2 separate regions of the Homo sapiens genome follow, and region 1 is linked to region 2. Evidence: promoter capture Hi-C in 16 types of primary human blood cells and fetal thymus (Javierre and others, 2016). All regions are on one chromosome and are shown on one strand. The core of a region is centred on a gene start or on the middle of the fragment in contact, and the rest is flanking DNA. Distances in the headings are between cores, read along the strand shown.

Evidence for each region. Contacts are between HindIII fragments. The CHiCAGO score rates a contact against its expected background, and 5 or more counts as called.
Region 1: a contact is called between a fragment that was not itself captured here and the fragment with the promoter of MAT2B in region 2, in 5 of 17 cell types (non-activated CD4 T cells, naive CD8 T cells, total CD8 T cells and 2 more). The highest score is 15.2, in non-activated CD4 T cells.

Annotation. Positions count from the first base shown.
Region 1 is chr5:160,500,970-160,505,581 of GRCh38, reverse strand. No RefSeq gene overlaps it. Among named protein-coding and RNA genes, the nearest start is that of MIR146A, 18 kb to the right of the region's middle. RefSeq lists an enhancer at 1-724. The HindIII fragment of the contact is 5,828 bases long and covers 1-4,612 here.
Region 2 is chr5:163,504,134-163,508,324 of GRCh38, reverse strand. MAT2B (methionine adenosyltransferase 2 non-catalytic beta subunit) reads right to left here and starts at 2,706. Exons shown (of 7, transcript NM_013283.5): 1 at 2,576-2,706. The coding sequence starts at 2,638. RefSeq lists a silencer at 2,390-2,529 and enhancers at 2,700-2,819, 2,860-2,949, 2,167-2,973. The HindIII fragment of the contact is 7,455 bases long and covers 1,543-4,191 here.

The DNA.
Region 1 (4,612 bases), core at 1,571-4,070, 3.0 Mb after region 2:
ACGTCTGACACTTCCCCAGAAGCCAGGTGAGCAGAGGCCCCAGGAGAGAAGGGAAGAGCCAAAGAGACAGGGTCCCTGGGCCTGTGACCTGCACCCCTGGGACCTGTCCTGTGCTCCAGGCCTGACAGTCGGCAGTTTGGGACCTGGGATTCCCCATCAGTATTCCCCAGGAAGGTCAGGACCGCTGGGAAAATGACAGCATCTTAAGAAGGAGATAAAAGCCAGGGGAAGAAAAGGGACAGTGGCCCAGTGTTCACACCACCAGGCCACGTGCCTATGCCTTCTCACACAGTCAGGAACTCCAAGGTTCTGAGAAAAGGGTCTAAGAAAGCAGGGAAACAGCACTGGACTGGGCCTGCCATACATACCCCACACACACATACACACACATATACCCCACACACCCATACATACCCCACACACACACCCCACACACACACATCCCACACAAGTACACCATACACACACATGCATGCACACACACCCCTCACACCCCACACACACCCCACACACACATAAACCACACACACACCACATGCACACATACACATACACCCCTCACGCACACCACACACACACACCCCTCACACCTCATACACAAATACACCACACACACCCCACGTACACCCCTCACACCCCACACATACAGACACCACACACACACTGACACCACACACATACACACACCCCTCACACACATACACCACACACACACCCATCACACCCCACACATACATACACCACACACACATACACCTAACACACACACCCTTCACACCCCACACACAGACATACACCACACCCACCCCTCACACCCCACACACACCACACACACAAATACACATGTCTCACACACACACCCCACATACCACACACATACACACACCCCTCACACACACATACACCCCTCACACCTCACACACACATACGCACACCGCACACGCACACCTCTCACACCCCACACACACACACAGACTCCACACACATACACACACACCCCACACACCCCTTACACCCCACATACACATACACCACACACATACCTTACACCCTACACACACGTACACCATACACACACATGTGCACATACACACACCTCACACCCCACACACACACCCTCACACCCCACACACACACCCTCACACCCCACACACACATACACACACAGGCTCCACACACACACCCACACACACACAACCCTTACACCCCACACACATACACCACACACACACACCTTACACCCCACACACATACACCATACACACACATGCGCACAGACACACCCCTCACACCCCAAACACATATACACCACACACACACACCTGGATCAGGGACAGGAGCAGGAAGGGGCCTTTTGTAGAAACAGTCCCCTGGGATACACACACACACACACACACACACACACACCCACACTAGGCTTGTGTATGCATGAAACAGCTCCTGAAAGATGCACAGGATCTGTCAACAGGAAGGGACCAAAGAACTGGAGATGAGGGGGATAGGAAGGAGGTTTATTTTTCACTGCACACCTTCTTGCAGAATTTTACTTATGTGCTTATATTGCCTTTTCAAAAAATAAATTCTGTCCCCCTTTCTAGAACACACGTACAGAACCTGTCCCTTGTCCGGTCCACGTGAAGTTAGGAAAACTAAGTCCTAGTTTTATCCTGCCAGCAATAGTGAAGCAGTATGATGTCATAATGAGTCTTAAATATCCTTTGCTTCAGTTTCTGAGGCTGTAAAATGGGGTTAATAATATCTATTCTACCCTCCTTAGAGGCACTTTAGAAGTTCATTGAGATAAAACAACAATAGCAATGATAATAGTTTAAATATATTGAGTGCTTAACATGTACTGGGCACAGTGCTATTGTCTCAATCCGAAAACAATCCACTAAGGTAGCAACTAATGTGAGTCTCATCTTAAGAGACAAGGAAAATAAGGCAGAGAAAAGCAACTTGCTCAAGGTCATGCAACTATATATCATAAACTAAAAGTAAAATTCAAAGCCCCCCCCTTCCCCACCAACTGACTGAATGGACCATCTCTTGGCCAAGGGGATCCCAGAGTAAACTTGAAGACTGAGTTCTCAGCCATGACAGGATAGGAGACTCAGATACACATCATTATACCCCCTCCCTCATTAACCATCATTAGCCTTTCTTCCCTAAGGGCTTAACAGAAAGTAGCCCTTTCAGACTTCATGACCAAGGACCCAAAAGCAAATGCAACAAAAACAAAAATAAATAGATAGGACTTAATTAATCTAAAGAGCTTCTGCAAAGCAAAAGAAATAATCAGCAGAGCTAACAGACAACCCACAGAGTGCGAGAAAATCTTCGCAATCTATACATCTTACAAAGGACTAATAGCCAGAATCTACAAAGAACTCTGATATGGTTTGGCTGTATACCCACCCAAATCTCAACTTGAATTGTATCTCCCAGAATTCCCCCGCGTTGTGGGAGCGACCCAGGGAAAGGTAATTGAATCATGGGAGCCAGTCTTTCCCATGCTATTCTCATGATAGTGAATAAGTCTCATGAGATCTGATGGGTTTATCAGGGGTTTCCACTTTTGCTTCTTCCTCATTTTTCTCTTGCTGCCACCATGTAAGAAGTGCCTTTCACCTCCTGCCATGATTCTGATGCCTCCCCAGCCATGTGGAACTTTAAGATCAATTAAACCTCTTTCCTCCCAGTCTCAGGTATGTCTTTATCAGCAGCGTGAAAACAGACTGATACAAACTCAAACAAATTAACAAGAAAAAAACAAACAATCCCATTAAAAAGTGGGCTAAGGACATGAATAGACAATTCTCAAAAAAAGATATACAAATGGCCAAGAAGCATATGGAAAAATGCTCAACATCACTAATGATCAGGGCAATGTAAATCAAAACCACAGTGAGATACCACCTCACTCTTGCAAGAATGGCCATAATCAAAAAATCAGAAAAATAATAGATGTTAGTGTGGATGCGGTGAAAAGGGAACATTTTTACACTGTTGGTGGGAATGTAAACTATGTACAACCACTATGGAAAATAGTGTGGAGATTCCTTAAAGAACCAAAAGTAGATCTACCTTCTGATCCAGCAATCTCACTACTGGGTATCTACCCAGAGGAAAAGAAGTCATTATATGAAAAAGATACTCGCACACACATGTTTATAGCAGCACAATTTGCAATTGCAAAAATATGGAACCAGCCCAAATGCCCATCAACAAACAAGAAATGGACAAAGAAAATATGGTGTGTGTGTGTATATATATATATACACACACACTCAAACAGCCACACACACACACACCATGGAATACAACTCAGCCATAAAAGGGAATGAAATAATGGCACTTGCAGCAACCTGGATGAAGTGAAGTAACTCAGGAATGGAAAACCAAACATTGTCGTTCCCACTCATATATGGGAGCTAAGCTATGAGAACAACAAAAGGCATAAGAATGATACATTGGACTTTGGGGACTCGGGGAAAGGGTGGGGTGGCGAGGGATAAAAGACTACACATTGGGTACAGGGTACACTGCTTGGTGATGGGTGCACCAAAATCTGACAAATCACCACTAAAGAACTCATTCACGTAACCAAACACCACCTGTTCCCCAAAAACCTATTGAAAATAAAAAAATAAATTTAAAAATATTTTAAAAAGAAAACAGCCCTTTCAAAAGACTCCACCACTGGTATCAGTCTACCGCCTAATGCTGCCTCTCCTTTTTTGCCCGATAAGAGACCACCGACCACAGGGTGGTTCTGGCCAATCTACAAAGAATGCACAGTAAGGGTGTTCCTGTCTACTTCACCTTTTGATGTCAAAGGGCCAAAAACTCCACCCTTAGATCATGCTAACACCGTCATTTTTTGTACATGGGACACAAGCAGGGGGATGAAGCTCAATTGCACGTGTGCATATTTCTCCTTCATAAATATTCATGATTCCTCTGATAGCTTATTGAATATGTATATTCGACCACTCTGCTCAGCATAAATTTCTATTCCATTTGCCCCACCCTCAGAGTATCTGTTTTGGGCTTCTGACCAGAGGCTATGCTTCCCACCCTGTCAGAATGGCAACCCTGCAGGCTGCAATCCTTTATGAGAAATAAAGCTCTCCTTTCCAAATTTATGAACCTCCTCATTCTTCAGTTGATGATATCCAGCCTTCTGTTTCTACCGCTCACACTTTTACCCACCGAATGCAATATATAGGTTTGAAATTAGTATTCATTACTCTAGATGCAGCTTCCTGTCCTGAGATGTTTGGGTTGATCATCAGATTTCCTCCACCTGTTTCCCCATATTGGAATTTCTACCCTACTCAAGAGAGTCTAATGAGGAGCTAGAATCTAGAGATAGGAATATAAGCAATTTCAAAATAGGATCCTGGTCCCAGGAGTTAGGATTTGTTGCATGGCAGAGACCAGGATCCTGGAATCACCTTTAACTCAAGAAAGTGCTCAGAAACAAGCCCCAGCTGAGGTTTATAAACACAATTAGCTTGTTACCACCCCCACCCCCACTGTTACCATAGCAATGAGAGAGCTCTTGGATGCCAGTCCTCAATTGCTGTTCCTGATTTGCAGAGCCTTC
Region 2 (4,191 bases), core at 1,457-3,956:
CAGAGGTTGCAGTGAGCAGAGATTGAGCCACTGCACTTCAGACGGGGTGAAAGAGCAAGAGGAAAAAAAAGAAAACAAAAAAACCCAGCAGCTTGTTAGAAGAGATATTATTTCCAAAGAGAGTAACAAGAAGTCCAGTGTTAAATGTTTTGTCTATAGTAAAAGAGAAAAAGCTGGAACCAGAACCTGAGTCTTGCTTCTCTGGTCAAGTCAAATACACTGCATTTTGTCTCAATCCTGTGAACTAATATTTGGTTTCATGAATGATTAAAGTTTTATCTGTTCTGCCACAAATTGGTGTTTAGAAGTTATTCTATCTCTATTGATCTAATTCCTCATTGGTAAATGGGGAAGGCATTTAGACAAAATGACTAAGGCTCTTTCAGCTTTAAAGTTCTATATTTCTAACATTTTCCATATTATCCCTACCACGAGGAGTCCGAATAGTTTCGTTTACTTAAATAAGGTAACTTTTCCTCTGAATATGCATTACTCCGAAATTTAAAATATGCCAAACAAATATCTCTGTTTTTGAGCTTCTATATAAGCAATACTCTGCCTTTTACACTGTTTTGTTGAGGCTTTTTGGTTCGTTCTTTAGAAAAAGAAATATCCCTCTAAAAACTACTTTGGACCTGCACTCCATAAATTATTTTAGTTGTGCACAAGGAAGAAATGTCTAAACACTTTAAGAAAGTCAGAATGAAAGAATAAAATGCTATCTAGTTCACTCAAGGCACAATAAAGAGTTGATAATACTTTGCCTGAAGTCTACTTTTTCTCAATTTTTATTATATGGGGGAAAGTAGATCTAATATCAGTTTAAGTTACTCTAAACGTATCTGCCTCTTATTGTCTAAACTCTGAAGTACGGAATTCAATCACTCCAAGGGACCAGATTTATGGACACCAAAAAAACATTTCTTGAAAAATTAAGTACATATAAATAAATATTCTTATTATCGTATCTAATCGAATGATACCAAATTGTATAGGTAATGGGAGATACATGGCTCCTTCCAAATGGTCCAACACAGTACTCTGGGACAGTGATTTCTACTTTAGCACACCTGCATTAATGTCTACTAAAAATGTTCTAGAAAAGTAAAGAATGGAATACTATTAGTATGTGGTTTTCCCAAATTTCAGTGGTAAATACCTTGTCGTTTTTGGAAACTTTAAAACTTGGCACAGTTCCATGTTTAATTTTTTAATTCCCCAGAAACAGACCCTTAAGGTAAACATTACTGGGCTTTACTTTTTAAGATTCTCTGACTACTTAGGTGGGATTGGTCTAACTTCTACTGCGACGCTACTGTGCTCCACAGACAGTATTACTAACAACAACCACTCCAGGATGCTTCTCTAACGTTAACTATGAGACAGTTCTCGTTCTCATGAGTCAGTAAGCTTTAATTCTACAGGTTTTGAGAGCAGTAAGTCTGTGCCAAGCTCTTCGTTGTTTCATTTTTAATGAAGGAAAACACGAAAAGCTATTTTCATTTTTATACTGAACTTCTTTTTGTGAAAGTAGATTAAGCTTTATATGCACACGTACACATACAAATGCATACATATAAATGTAAACGTATGTAACATGCACTCAGCACGGTCTGGAGGACCTAGGAACATAGAGGTTTAATAGACCATTTATCCTAACTTTACCCTCAAAGAACCAAAGTGATTTGAAAACCCTAAGTAAATTTGGAAGCATGAAAACTTTGCAATAACAGAAACAGCCATCTCCTATATTCTCTACTCTCTCCAAAAGACATGGTCTGGGCATTAGTAGTGTTCTTATCCCCAGGGTTGGATATGTTCTGTGGACAGATTAATGCTGGAGGCCCTTAAGTGGAATGGAGCAGGATGGGACGGGGGCGAGGGGGGCACCAGAGATGGATCTTCCAATCATCACCATAATCTTCCTTCAGGGAAACTCCGTAGTGGTTCAAAGCCCAAGACAGTCACACAAACCTGTATCTGAATTCCAGGCTCCAACCTTACGGAATGAACCTGGGCCAATGTCTCACCCTCTATGCCCGTTTTCTCGTCTACAAAATGAGGCAATAACAAGTATCTCACAGTGGAGGATTAAAGTAATGCCCGTCAAGTGCATAACATAGTGCTGAGAACTTAAGAGTTCAATAAGTTGTCATCTCCAGCACTGTTATTTGTGAGAAGTCACCTTTTCCTGTTCTTTCTCAAACCTACGAACTTGTAAGATCGAGAAATACGAACCAAAGATGAATAAACGGGGAAAACCAAAATCAAAACAAACAATTCTGAAAAACCTCTTCGTCCTCAGGAGCAGAGACAGAACTCGAAAGTAAAACCTCCACCTACTTGCTTCCTGCCGCAGTGGCTGGAAGAAAAAAACACTGACCCGTGTGCGCTGAGATAAACAAACTCGGTGGCGCCCCCCTCGGATCCGGGGCTGGGAGGGTGGCGGTGAGACCACTCCCGGCCGGAGGCTCTGACCCGGGCGGAATACGCCTGCAAAGCCGCCCGAGCCCCGGTGGCTCGTCCCCCTCGGCGCCCCCGCTCCCACCGGAGACGCCCAGGCCGACTCCCTCACCTCCACCAGCCGACAGCTCCCGGGAACAAAGTGTATAGAGAGCTCTTTCTCCCGCCCCACCATGCCCGCCGTCTTCACGCCGCAGCCTCAGCGGCCGCCACCTCCTCCAACCCAGGATCGACGCGGGCCTCAGCTCAGACGCCCTCGGCCCGCCTCCCCTAGGCCCAGAACGACCCCGCTCGCCGCTTCCGGCTTCCGCTGCCATAGCCGCGCCCGTTGATTGGCCACGCTCCGCCGACGCCCCAGAAAGAGGGCGGGTACGCGCGGTCTGCCCCCAGCCCACGCGCCGATGCTTAAAGCGACACACAAAAGAAAGGCCCTGACCTTAGGCAGTGAATTCAGGTTTTGTTTCGGAGATTTTATTTGAGTGCTTTTTATTCTACTTTTTTTCCTTTTTTTCTTGACTCGGGAAAAGATTGAAGTGGATCGCCTTGAGTTTCAAGTTTGCAGACTGCGCAGTGCATGAGGATCGACTGAGCAATATAAAAAGTGGAATAAAAAGCATTTTAAAGTCATGGGGGCGGGGGCGGAGGTGGGTAGAGCATAATGGACACATCTCTAGAGCTCTAGGTGGGGGTTTTGAAAGATTTAGAAAAAGACAAGGAATAAAAATAAAAGGGTTGGCGTCTGAGCCATTTGTCTTCCTGGGATGCTTAAAAAAAGAAAAAACCTGTGTGTGAGATATCAAAAATGTAAAACTATTTTTAACTAATTAAAAATAAAAAGTTGTAGGGGGAAGGAAGATGAACTACTTAGGTACCTCTTCAAAACGCAGATCCTTGGACTTTACCCATAATTACAGAACAAGAAACGAGCCCGGGGTCCGACTTCTTAATGGGTTTAACCAGAATCAAGCCCACTCTTTAAGAAACACCGCCTCGGGGATTGCAGGATTGGGCCACACGAGCCCAGCCTTGGTGAGCACCGAGAATTTAAGCAGCAGCGTGTAAGGCTGGGCGTTCTACCACCTTTTAAAAGTTAAGCAGCCCTAAGTGCTGATGCCGACTTATTTCCCTTCCAGTTAAAAACCGCAAAAAATCCTCAGCCAGGCTGGACGCCTGTGAAATTGATGCAGAAAGTAAACCCTGGCACAGGCCGTGTAGGATTTGCCAACTTTGCACCGAACAGTCCAAGGGTTCTTGTGTGCCCAGGATAGCAAGCTCTAAACGTCGTCCACAAACGTGACCACTGTCTGGATTTTCCTAGGGCCTTTCCCCGACTCCTAAACCTTTTTGGTTTATTTTCAAACTAAAGACTAAGCAGCCTTTTAAAGAAGTTTTCCACGTCAGAACACCATGACTTTCCTTCCTCCTCAACCCCCAACAAAAACTCATTTCCTTATTCGTGTAAACATAAAGTTTCTCTAGAACAGTAATCGAAGACAGCCTGAGGTTTCTTATGTTCCGATTTTTTTTTTTTTTAAACACAGGCTATTACTGTTCATTAGTTTGGCTTTATTTAGGGAATCCTTGAGGACTGCCCCAGCGCTAAACAAGCATAATCAGGGGACAACAAAGAAGAGGGCGGGAAGAGGGCCGGGGGAGCAGCCAAGATCATCTTACTACTTTTTCTCTTAACTGGGAATTCGGTTTAAAGTTTCTAGTCGCAACACGTGA